Regions from separate parts of the Homo sapiens genome. Here region 1 is linked to region 2. Evidence: promoter capture Hi-C in human tissues and cell types (Jung and others, 2019). All regions are on one chromosome and are shown on one strand. The core of a region is centred on a gene start or on the middle of the fragment in contact, and the rest is flanking DNA. Distances in the headings are between cores, read along the strand shown. Region 1 overlaps OTUD7B (OTU deubiquitinase 7B). Region 2 holds the start of CA14 (carbonic anhydrase 14).

Region 1 (5,726 bases), core at 1,683-4,182, 250 kb after region 2:
AATAGATTTTTTCGATTTTACCCTCATTTTTGATTATCACCACCTTTCTGCCAATAATTATCCGTTAACATGAATAATTTAGAATTGAACAGATATCTGCTTTGGACATTACACTTTCAAGATAGAAGGAAAGATGGAAGGAAGATAGTGCCAAACTAATTTTTTATTGTCATTGCCTTATTTGACTTATTCCTTGCTTTTAATACTGAAGACTCCCTCGGAAAAAAATGTAAAACTTTGCCAAAGCAAGAGCTGGCTATCTACTGACTTGTATAAGGCCCGGTGACTGGTAATGAATGCTAATCATTAGGTGGCCTTTAGTGGCCTTATGTTGCCAACAACTTGGAAAATTTCCCAAAGCTTTATTTGTTTAATCTTTCTTTTGAGACCCCTATTTAAAAAACGACTTAATTTGGAGACGAAAATCTAATTTTTAAAAACCACATACACCTTTCCCAGAATCTGTTGATGATCAATAATTGTTTTGATCTGTGTGAGTTGATTGGTGCCAATATTAGTGATGATATCTGGGTAAATTCTATTTATATCTGCATCTAGCAACTCCCTAAGTTGAACTGCATACTTTATTCCAGGGCATGGGGATCAAAGGGGTTGAAGAAGCCTAGGAATGAGTGGAGAGCTGCCTGGTAGTCCACCACTATTCCTAGTTCTCAGGAGGCTTTATTTGCAATTTTGAGATTCAATGTATGTAACCAAAATAAGTATTCTGATTGTTATGAGGGCACTAAGTGCCACTTGTCAAAGTTTTGGAGCTCCTGAGTATCTTAAGCATGCTAAAAGACACTGGCCATTATAGTGTGGGTGTATGTGTGTATGAGTAGCACTCTCCTTACCCTAAACACTCATCCCACCAAAGGGAAAATCCTTAAACAGCGCTTTGAAATGTGACCTCAGCAGTATCTTTCCTATGGGAACTTAGGAGCTGTGGAATAGCAGACTGTGGAATCTTTTTTGTAGCCTCTGATAAATTCAGGTAATTAAAAATTTGTGTAACTGGAAGATAGATACAGGGCAGTTTTTCTCATGAATGCCTGAATTCAGTTGACTTTTTAATATAATAGAAGAGAGTTGTTTGTTTGTTTTTAAATAAGACATCCTTGCTGAGTAATGATTGAACACTTCTCTGGATAAAGCAGTCTCCATGCTCCAGTGACAGGCTTTAGGGAGGTATAAAAGATGTAAAGACATGTGTCTTTGCTCTTGGGGTTGAGGGTGGATGGGAAAGGTGGTGTATAAATATGGGAAGGCAGACTATTATGAGCTTTAACATTTAGGAAACAACATATAGACAAAAGCAAATTTAACGTGCTGATAAGTATGTAAGGGCTGAGAAGACTTAAAGTAACAAAGTAAGAATCAGTGAAATAAATTGGGGAGATTTCTGAGTCAGTAAATTTTGAAATGGACTTGGGAGGCTATGGATGAGTCATAAAGAGGTATGGGCTATTGAGTTAGATGGGTCTTCGTTCAGACCTTGCGGCTATTTTTTACCATGTGACCTTGGACAAGTTAACTTCTTTTCCTTATCTGTAAAATGTGAGCATTCAAGTAAATGAAATAGTTACTGTGTTGGGAATAAAAGAAAAGAAAGGATCTTCCAAACAGAAAGTATAGAATGTACAGTGTGCAATGATGATATGAATGACTAAGTTGTGAGTGGGGGGAATATATGAGAGTGACTGTAGAGAATGTGGGTTGGGCAAGTCATGAGTAGAGCAGGCAAGAGGGTGGAGGGGACTCAGAAGCCAGACTCTGTTGGGTGTTGATAGAAGGGTCAATAGAATCATTGTAGGTCCTTGAACAAAGGACGGATTTAATGAGAAATATTGAGCCCTTTGGTTCAGGAACTCAGGGACAAGGAATCAGGCAGGCATCCGTACATTGTGACTCTTATTTTCTGTACCATCCTAACCTGAAGGGATACAGCCAGGAGGCATAAGATTCCTTGTAGAAGTTTTTGTGTTTACACACCTTACTATGCTGAGCCTGCTTGTTCCTGTCTCGTAGTGCACCAACCTGTGGGGAAGTCTCAAGACTATGGCCGGATTCTCCTCAAGAGCTTATAGTAAGGACAGCATTATGTTTCAAGTGCATTTAACTCTCAGTTGTCTCTGCTAATGTAGGGAGCACTGTTGTAGGTAATTCAGAACTTAACAAAGACATTTCCTGGTTATTTTCAACTGTGTTTTTTTTAGGATTATACCTTATCCCTTTATTTCCTCTAAGAAATAGTTTTAGATAAGAAAAATTACTAAACTGTTATTTGTAGTGACCCACTATGAGTTTAATTCTTTGCTAGGTGCTATGGAGGTTTAGGAAAAATGACAACTTTGCTCCCAGACTGAAGTACAGTGGCGCAATCTCAGCTTACTGCAAGCTCTGCCTCCCAGGTTCATGCCATTGTCCTGCCTCAGCCTCCCGAGTAGCTGGGACTACAGGCGCCCACCACCACGCCCGGTTAATTTTTTGTATTTTTAGTAGAGACGGGGTTTCACCGTGTTAGCCAGGATGGTCTTGATCTCCTGACCTCGTGATCCGCCTGACTCGGCCTCCCAAAGTGCTGGGATTACAGGCGTGAGCCAGTGTGCCGGGCCGAAAATACATTATTTTTTAAACTAGATTTATTTTCATTTTTGGGGATCATACTAATATTGAAATAAATTTGCATTTCTAAGCTTATATTACCTGATGGTGGGGAGAGTACACTGATGATGAAGAACAGTCATTCTTGCATTAAAGATTTGGCCTTAGAAATCCGTAAAATGAATAATCCATTTGTAGATAATTAAGACTAGACTACACTGAATATGTTGATAGACCAATTTCTTTTCAAAATCTGTATGGATCCAATGTGGCCTCCTAGGCTGTCTGTCTTATGTCTGAGAATGACTGGCAGGTGATGCTTGTGTTCCAGCCAGAATGAGCCTTCATTCACAGTATCTGGACGAATGCCACTACATTATGTTGTGTTGTTGAAGATTAAGCCGGCTTTCTCAAAGGACTTGTGCTTTGTAGAGGCTCTTCCAGATATCAGCTTCATTGAAAATCTGTCAGACTTTTCCTCCTGTAGGAAAGTTGTTTGAAAGTATGTCCAATTAAAAAAAAAAGGAATGGGCAGAAGTGTCCACATTTAAGAAGTAAACAAAATCACATGCCATTCTTTCATCCCTTTTTTTTCTTCTCCAGTTGACTTGCTTTTCTCCATCCCTGCCACTCTCCCCCACCTCTTTATAATCATTACCAAACTGATGTCACGAGCACAGGATTATTATTTACTTCTTGAGTCAGGAGATTGTAGTATTTCTGAGCTAGAAATCAGGTGGAAAAGTCAGGAATCTTATTTTATACAACTAGATAGGGATTATTTTCAACTGTGCTTTTTTTAGGATTATACCTTAGCCCTTTATTTCCTCTAAGAAATAGCTGTAGATAAGAAAATTACTAAACTGTTATTTGTAGTGACCCACTATGAGTTTAATTCTTTGCTAGGTGCTATGGAGGATTAGGAAAAATGACAACTTTGTGTCCTTGAAGAGTTTACAGTCCAGTTGGGAGTAAGAAGAATAAAAAGGAATGAATACTTGCTGAGCCTCTTAATATGCCACACAAAATTTTAAAATGTGAAACTATATTGTTAGTTGCATAGTGCAGACCTCATACCGTAGGTATTTGGGGAGAGGAGTACTCAGGTAGTTATGTCACAGAGGAATTATAACTCATTTCAGATCTTAATAAAAAAATAGGCCAGGCACAGTGGCTCACGCCTGTAATCCCAGCTACTCAGGAGGCTGAGGCAGGAGAATCACTTGAACCCAGGAGATGGAGGTTGCAAACAGCCGAGATAGCACCACTGCACTCCAGCCTGGGTGACAGAGCAAGACTCTGTCTCCAAAATAAATAAAAAAATAAATGAATAAGTGTTATTGTATTAGGTACAAGGGATGAAGATGAAGAGGATAACAAAACATTTCATATTGGAGCTGAAAGGGATCAAGCGAAAGCCTGGAAACAGGACTATACCTGAGATGTTCTTGGGGCGGTGAGGAGACTAACCTGAGTGGCAGTGAGCAGTAGTGAAATGAAGGTGGGTAGGTTGGTTTGGAGCTATGTTTATAGAGGGTGTTAAAAAGCTAGGCTTATAAGTTTATATATATATATAAAATTTATTTATTTATTTATTTATGTATTTATTTATTTATTTTTTTGAGACAGGGTCTTGCTCTGTTGTCCAGCTCAGGCTGGAGTGCAGTGACACAATCTTGGCTGACTGCAACCTCCGCCTCCTGGGTTCAAGTGATTCTCGTGCCTCAGCCTCCTGAGTAGCTGGGATTACAGGCGTGCACCAGCATGCCCAGCTAATTTTTGTATTTTTAGTAGAGACAGGATTTCACCATGTTGGCCAGGCTGGTCTCAAACTCCTGACCTCAAGTGATCCGCCCACCTTAGCTTCCCAAAGTGCTGGGATGACAGGCATGAGCCACCGTGCCCGGTCAACTTTATATTTTAAATGGTAGAAGATTTTTGAATAGAATAGCAGTATGATGATACTAATACACAGGTTGGCTGGGAGGGAATGGAGATTGACACTGGGGGTGTGTGAAGTGATGAGGCCCGAGTTAGAGTTGTGGAGGGTAGGCTAAGGAGAGGAAAGAGTGAAAAAGAGACTGTGAAGGAAAAATGGAAATTAATGAGGGGTGGATGTGGGAGATGAAGAAGGGTGATGAGTCAACTACAACTGTGACACGTTGTGCCTGGGTGTCTGAGACATTGAGTGAAATAAAGAAGTTAGGAAGCTTTCCTCATTTTGGGGAAATATGATGAGTATAATTTGCGATGTGTTGGATTTAAAGTGGCAATGAAATGTCCAAATGAAGGCTGTCCTGGGTGTGAGCTGGAGTAAAGATGGGGGTAGGTTTGGAAATGCAGTTTTGCAATTCATGGCCTAGATGTGGTAGCTGTAGCCAAGAGAATTAATAAGCTCTCTGAGGACTAAAGTTTAGGGAAAGAGCAGAAGGGCAAAGAAAATGGTACTGATAAACCTAAACACGTCTAAACCTAAACATGTCTCCTATCTTGTAAACACCATCCTAGGCACTGAGATGGAGGTAAGGGAGACAAGGAACCCACGAGGAGCGTATGGGTCTAGTGGGAGGAGACAGATATGTAAATATATAGATAGAATGAAGTGTGATAGATGCTGTGATAGAAGTATGCAGCAGGGAGAGTGGGAGCCCAAGGGTCAGTTCTGCCTTGGGCATGCTGAGGTTGGAAAGAGCCTCCCTGAGGAGTTAGCATTTGAGCTGAGTCTTGAAAGATGAATTAAGGATATACTCTACAGATGACAAGAATTACATTCCAGTCTGAGAAAATACCATGAACAAAAGCTTAAAGGAATGAAGGCCAGACTTCTTCAGGTAACTTTTACTTAATCATTATGGCTGGAGGATGGGATGGAGGGCAGGCTGAAGAGGTAGGCAACGCTGGATCATACAGAGTTTTTATCTTTTTTTTTTTTTTTTTGAGACAGAGTCTTGCTCTGTCACCCAGGCTGGAGTGCAGTGGCACAATCTCAGCTCACTGCAAGCTCCGCCTCCCGGGTTCACGCCATTCTCCTGCCTCAGCCTCCCGAGTTGCTGGGACTACAGGCGCCCGCCACCATGCCCGGCTAATTTTTTGTATTTTTAGTGGAGGCGGGGTTTCACCAT
Region 2 (6,268 bases), core at 1,465-3,964:
ACGGAGCCAGAAGGAGACCTGGCAGCTAAGCTCAGAGTTCCCACCCAGCTTCCTTTCCACCCCAGCTCCCTCACTCCTACACGATTTACTGAGGACTTAACTAGCTTTTCTGCCAAATCAGGAGGTGTAGGATTTGATGATTAGAGCAGGATCTAGGAGCCATATATGTGAAACTCAAGGCAGGAGGAGATCCAGAAGGGAGGAGCTAGGGTGAGAAGGTAAAGGAAGTCTCCTCCCACCCGCACAGTGTGTCTTCCTGCCAGGTGAGGAGGTCCCAGTGTGAAAGGGTTGTCGGGAGGCCTTGAGATCTGCTCACCCTCATACGTCCAGTGTTGACCTGCAAGGCAGAATAGTTTGGGTTACAGCCAGCGCAGCCTGGGGCAGAACCCTGGCCTCCACACTCCCCTCCCTCTGGCATTCTGTACTGCTCCACCTCCCTCTCTGCAGTCTCTCCTCCCTCTGCTCCAGCACTTTGCAAAGGAAGCCCTGAAACCGGACACCTCTGTGGAAAGGTCGGGGGGCCTATTTAAAATCACCAGCCAGGCTGTGTTGGTGCCTGCCGAGTAAAAGGGGAGGAGGAAGGAAAAGAGGTAAAGCCCAGAGACTAAAATTAACCTGGATCCAAATGTGCGATTGGCCCAACCCTTTCTTTTCTGTAACCTGTGCCAAGTCAATCTAACACTTAGAAGATTGGGGTGGGTGGGGTGAGGGTGTGGGCAGAGGGTTGGAAGGATAGGGACTAGAAAGCGGGGAGGAGAAAGGAGTTTAGAGTGTGTGTGTGTTGGGGGGTGCTACTGAGGGGAGAAGGGGAGATTATTCCTTTGCTTTAAAAAATTGCATGAATAAAGCCACTGAGCTGTAAACTCATATGTAAATTCTTCTTTTCTGGTCCCATTAGCTCTAGAGGAAACTCCTCATCACCAGGAGGCTCTGCTCCCTACATTCTGAGATGGTTAGGGAAGGGTGGGAGTCAGGGCAGGGTCTACTCTAGATTGAGGGTGGTGGGTGGGCACAGGCAGCCAGGCTGGCAGGGACAGGATGAAAGTGAAGCATTGTGTGTAGAGAAGAGAGCTGCCAGCTGGGTCACATGCCAGGCTCTCGTGCAGTCCTGTCTGACGCAAAGGCTGAGGGTCTGCAGGTCCAGCCCCTCCCTACGGCCAAACTGCCTCAAGAAGAAAACGAAGGCCTTCATGGTTTATGCTGCAATATTCATACTACTAGAAACTCTGGAGAAAAATCCTAAATTCCTTCCTCTCTCTGTCTCTTATTCCCTTAAATTCCTCAAACTTGTGAGATGTCCTGCTCTTATCCTTGACCTATTCTGCTAGCCCAAGGGAGAGCTGGAGGCAGCCTCTCATTTTACCATATCTGTGGGACCCCCCAACAACTCAAACTCCCTGGTCTGTAAAGGTGCCTGTCCACTCTGGTCAGAGCCTCAACACACTTATTCTGTCTCTTCCTCCTCTTTCCCTCTTTTTTTCTTTCTCCTCAGATGAGATTTGTGACTCTCCATTTGGCTGCCTGCCTGCCCCCATCCTCTCTGCATTTGCCTTCTGCTCTCTGGACACCCACCTCACCCTGCTCTTTCCACAAACCTCAGTTACACACCTAGTATGTGCTGGACACTGTGCTAGGCACAGGAAACACAAAAATGAGGTCTAGGAGTTCCTGGGGACACTCCTGGAGCGCTTCAGCCTGTTCTCCCAAGAATCCCTCCTCATCTCCTGGGAGCTCCTGAAAGTCCTTTGTAAACTGTAAAATGTCAAACAAATGTTGACTCTTACTGCCACTTTCAGAGGATAACTGGGGAGTTAGTCGCTCCACAGAATGAAGAGGGAATCTTGGCCAAAAGGGGATGAATTGGAGATCAGGGTCTGAGTTGGGCAGGAAGTATTCTTCCCCCTACCCCCATCTATCCATCTTTTTACTCCAGGCCTCTTTGACTCCCTATTTGGAGGAGTTTGTAAATAAAGAAGTCCAGGAGTCCTGCCTGGGACCAGGGCAGTGGGGGAAAGAGCTCTGGAGAAAATCTGTAGCCTGCAAAGAGATTCCAGCACTTGCATGTGTACACACTCTGCCTGCCTGCCGCTAGTTCTCCCCGACCTCCAATAACAACAAGGCTGGAGAGACAAAAGGTAAAGAAGGGAAGTGGTCTCCTCCACACCCCACTCTTTTTTCCTCATCTCTGAGCCTATTATTCCAGCCTCTAGGCTTCCTTTCACACCTCTCCTCCCCCCATTAAGCACACCTGGCGACATGTGAACATCAGCACAAATCCACACACAGACATTTAGTTGTACCTACCCCCATCTGCAGCCAGGATCCAAATCACCTCCAGCAGGAGGGCGGAGAACAACATAGTGTCCCAGGAAGGGGTGCAGGGGACTGGGAATTTGAGGACTAGAGGACTAGGACAGGCAGAGAGAGAGGGAGGGAGGAGTGAGAGAGAGAGAGAGAGAGCGAGCGAGCTCCTGGCGTGAGTGTATTTATCTCTGCTTCTCTTGCTGTCTCTGTCTCTGTGGGCTTCCAGGGGATTCGGTGTTCAGTAGGGTATCATGGGTTTCTGGATCCCCAGGACAAATCTCTTGCTGCCTCTTTGCCCTCTCTCTTTATCTCCCTCTGCAGTCTCCACTCCACTAGCTGGCCAGCGACTTTACAACTGCCTCCTGCTTTTAAGGTGGCTCTGAACTGGTGTATGTGGGGACGGGGGTGCTGCCTGGGCTGCTGGTGAACAGCTCCTTAAATAGCCAATTAGGCATGCAGGATGGCCCCACTCGGAGCTGGAGCGCGGCAAGTTTCACTGGAGCCCTGGCCCTGGCTCAGGAGCCCAGCTGGGGTGAGCTCTTCCTTCCTCTGCTAGTCACACAGATGCTGTTTAGATGGGTGTTCCCTGGAGCAGGCAGGGTCAAGGAAGGGGCTTTGGGGTTCAACTCAGCCCCCTCAAAAGGACACTGTATTTTCATCCCCCCGCCTGATTTCTCCTCTGAGGAGCAGCTCCCTGGGTGGTATGCGGCAGATGGTGGGGGTACCTGTTCCCAATTCCCTGCATAATCTGAGCTGCCCTGGAATGGGAAGAGTCCAGAATTAGGAGATATATAACAAGAAGGAATTAGGGACTCAGGGTGCAGGGGAGGGGTGGAGGAAGTCAATAACTAAAACCTGAGTTGTGTCCTAAGTTCTAAGGAAGAGAAGTGAGGCAAGGAGAACTCATCTGGAGCAATCTCTTCTGTGCCTGCCACCACCCCCTTCCCACGGTGAGGCCTGGGTCCACGTGCCTGTGTGGCCTGGGGTGGGGGGAGTGCGGGGAGGGAGCGTTGTTTGCTGGATAAAGCCCATTTGTATGCCCAGTGGGGGAGGGGTGTAGCAGCACCATGGAGAGACAGCGGCTGTAACTGCCAGACCCAGCCACCTCCCTCTCCAGGGAGCCCAGATCTAGGGCGGCTTTTGTCACTGAAGAGGACACTGACCTCCGGCAGAGAGGCCAGGGCAGGAGGAAAGGAGAGACTTTAGGAACAATCACTACCACCATCAGAAAAAGGTGGTTTCCAGAGAAAGAGAGGGGAGGGTCTGGAGAGACCATGTGATCCAGATGGAAGAGGGGCTCAGGGTCTTCCTTCCAGCCCAACAAAGGGCTGAGGCAGGACATGTGGCACTGAATGAAACCTGCCACCAAGGAGCTGCGTCCGTGGAGCATGGAGGCTGCACGTCTCAGGAATGTGAACTGATGTTTGCTCCCCACGGGACTGGAAATCCCGATTGGAATGTACATCCTAAATCCCTCGTTAGAGAATGTGAAACCCACAGATACTTTCAAGCCAGACATTGAAACCTCTTTCTCCTCCATGCTCTTCACCAGAGGCACCAGCCAGGAGGATGCACCCATCTGAAGCTCCCTCTGCCCTCCTTGCTCCTGCCGAGTAGCAATAAATAGCCAAACAAAGGGAGCAGAAGCTAAATAAGGGAGCAGGATAAAAGCCAAATGAACAGAATAATGCATGTGCTGGATCATCAGCTCCTGCAGAGACAGGAGCTCACTGTGCCTTTCTATCCCCTGTGATTGATCTGCAAAGCCAAGCCATTTTGCTGATGTCATTTCCCTTTTTCTTCTCCTATCACCCTCTGAGTTATTTGTCCCCTTCAGGAAAGTTTTATGTTTTGAGGTTCCCCAAAGCCCCATCCATCCCATCTAAGAAGAGTAAAAGACTTGAAGTATAAATTAGATTTCCCGGGAATCAGGGTACTTAACACAAAGAAACAAAAAAAGAAAGCAGAGACATCTTGGTATGAAAGAAGAGATTTAGTAGGAAAGAAGAGGTCTGAACAGAATGACCTCTGCCGGAACAGAGTTCCCCTGGAGCGCTGAGCTGAGATTCCGATTTCCAAGGCAGATAGCGTGTCTTGCCAGGCGCCACCTCCTGGCTCGTCTATGAATTTTTAAATTTTAATTTAAAATGCTTTGTGTATGTGGTTCCTTCTGGGAGGTATTTCACTGCTGCTGGGCTTTGGGATTTTGCCTACGCAACTGAACATTGTTTCACAAAGATATCTTAGCCTGGAATCAACACTTCCCTGATCTTGGGTGAGCAACGCATCCAGGTGCTTATGCTTCCCAGACGACAAAGGCCCTCCTTTCTAGGACAGAGGGAGCCAGAAGGCGAGCGCCGTCCTCCAGGCACTTGACTTTATCTTGATCTTTGGCTTTACTGTGGATATTTCTTTTGTTGCTTTCTAGCTGTGCTGATTTGGAGTAGGTGTCAAGGGGACCCTTATATGTAAGTTAAAAAAAAAAAAACTGACACAGCTCCCTCTCCCCACTCAGTCTTAGTTTCCACTCAAACTCTGGCACCTTTGTTTTAGTTCTGACCTCTCTCTCAAGCCCTTTCCTTGCTTGCATTGGCTAAAACCGTTAAAACCAAAACCAAGCATCTCACTGCCTTCTGGCGCCATCTCCTGTCCTTGTAGATATACTGAAACTTGACTGAGATGAGGCGTGGTGGCTCACGCCTGTAATGCCAGCACTTTGGGAGGCCGAGGCAGGTGGGCCAGGAGTTCCAGACCAGCCTGGCCAAAGCATAGCAAAACCTCGTCTCTACTAAAAATACAAAAATTAGCCAGGCGTGGTGGTGCATGCCTGTAATCCCAGCTACGCAGGAGGCTGAGGCAGGAGAATTGCTTGAACTCGGGAGTGGGAGGTTGCAGTGAGTTGAGATTGCTCCACTGCACTCCAGCCTGGGTGACAGAGTGAGACTCTGTCACAAAAACAAAAAAGAAAAAACAAACAAACAAAAAAGAATTAAGTAATTTTGGAAAAAATGACCCTTTGGATCATTTTCTTAGTTTTCCAGTTCACATTACACAACAAATGTAGTATGAGAATCTTGTAAATTGAGGACCGGTAAAAGTTTGTGGTCTGAAAATTTGCAAGTCATTTAATTATAAGCGATAAGTTACACTATTTCAGTTGCAATTTTGTGTTATACATTGATTCCATGAACAGAACGCTGCCTGGTACATAACTGTTGATTGAATGAATCTAGTAATTGCAACATTTATTTACTGTCTTTCACAGAATTTTAGAGCAGAAGGGCCCTCAGGCATCATTCTAAACCCCTTGTTATACCCTGTAAAACTGAGTTTTGAGAGATTTAGGGATTTAGCCATGGTTAGTCATATAGCTGCTAGGCTAAACCAGAACAAGGACACAGGCACCAGTGAGCTTTCTCCTACACCATTGGTTCTCAAATGTCAATGTGCATCAGAATCACCTGGAAAGCTTTTTAAACTTGGAAAGCTTATTAAAATACAGATTTCTGGCCAGGTGCAGTGGCTCATGTCTGTAATCCCAGCACTTTGAGAGGCCGAGGCGGGCAGATCACCTGAGGTCAGGAATTTGAGACCAGCCTGGCTAATATGGCGAAACCCCATCTCCACCAAAAATACAAAAAAATTAGCCAGGTGTGGTAGCGGGTGCCTGTAATCCCAGCTACTTGGGAGGCTAAGGCAGGAGAATCGCTTGAACTTGGGAGGCAGAGGTTGCGGTGAGCCGAGACTGCACCACCGCACTCCAGCCTGGGTGACAAGAGCAAAACTCTATCTCAAAGATAAAATAGAATAAATAAATAGAGATTTCTGGACCTCACCCCCATAGTACCCGATTCTATAGTTCTGGGTGTGTCCAAATCTACATTAGAGATTTGGCATTAGAGAAATTAGCATTTCTCTTTCTCTCTCTCTCTCTCTCTTCTTTTTTTTGTACAGTCTCAGCTGG

What was found. The method cuts DNA at HindIII sites, captures the fragments that hold promoters and counts their contacts. A contact is called where the count stands out against the background at its distance.
Region 1: a fragment that was not itself captured here is called in contact with the fragment with the promoter of CA14 in region 2 in 5 of the 25 tissues and cell types used here (dorsolateral prefrontal cortex, hippocampus, lymphoblastoid cells and 2 more).

Annotation. Positions count from the first base shown.
Region 1 is chr1:150,003,065-150,008,790 of GRCh38, reverse strand. The region is part of intron 1 of OTUD7B (OTU deubiquitinase 7B); the gene reads left to right. Among named protein-coding and RNA genes, the nearest start is that of OTUD7B, 4.8 kb to the left of the region's middle. The HindIII fragment of the contact is 6,747 bases long and covers 1-5,726 here.
Region 2 is chr1:150,254,220-150,260,487 of GRCh38, reverse strand. It overlaps CA14 (carbonic anhydrase 14), which reads right to left and starts at 2,714. Exons shown (of 11, transcript NM_012113.3): 1 at 2,305-2,714; 2 at 317-337. The coding sequence starts at 2,359. RefSeq lists an enhancer at 3,830-4,524. The HindIII fragment of the contact is 12,121 bases long and covers 1-6,268 here.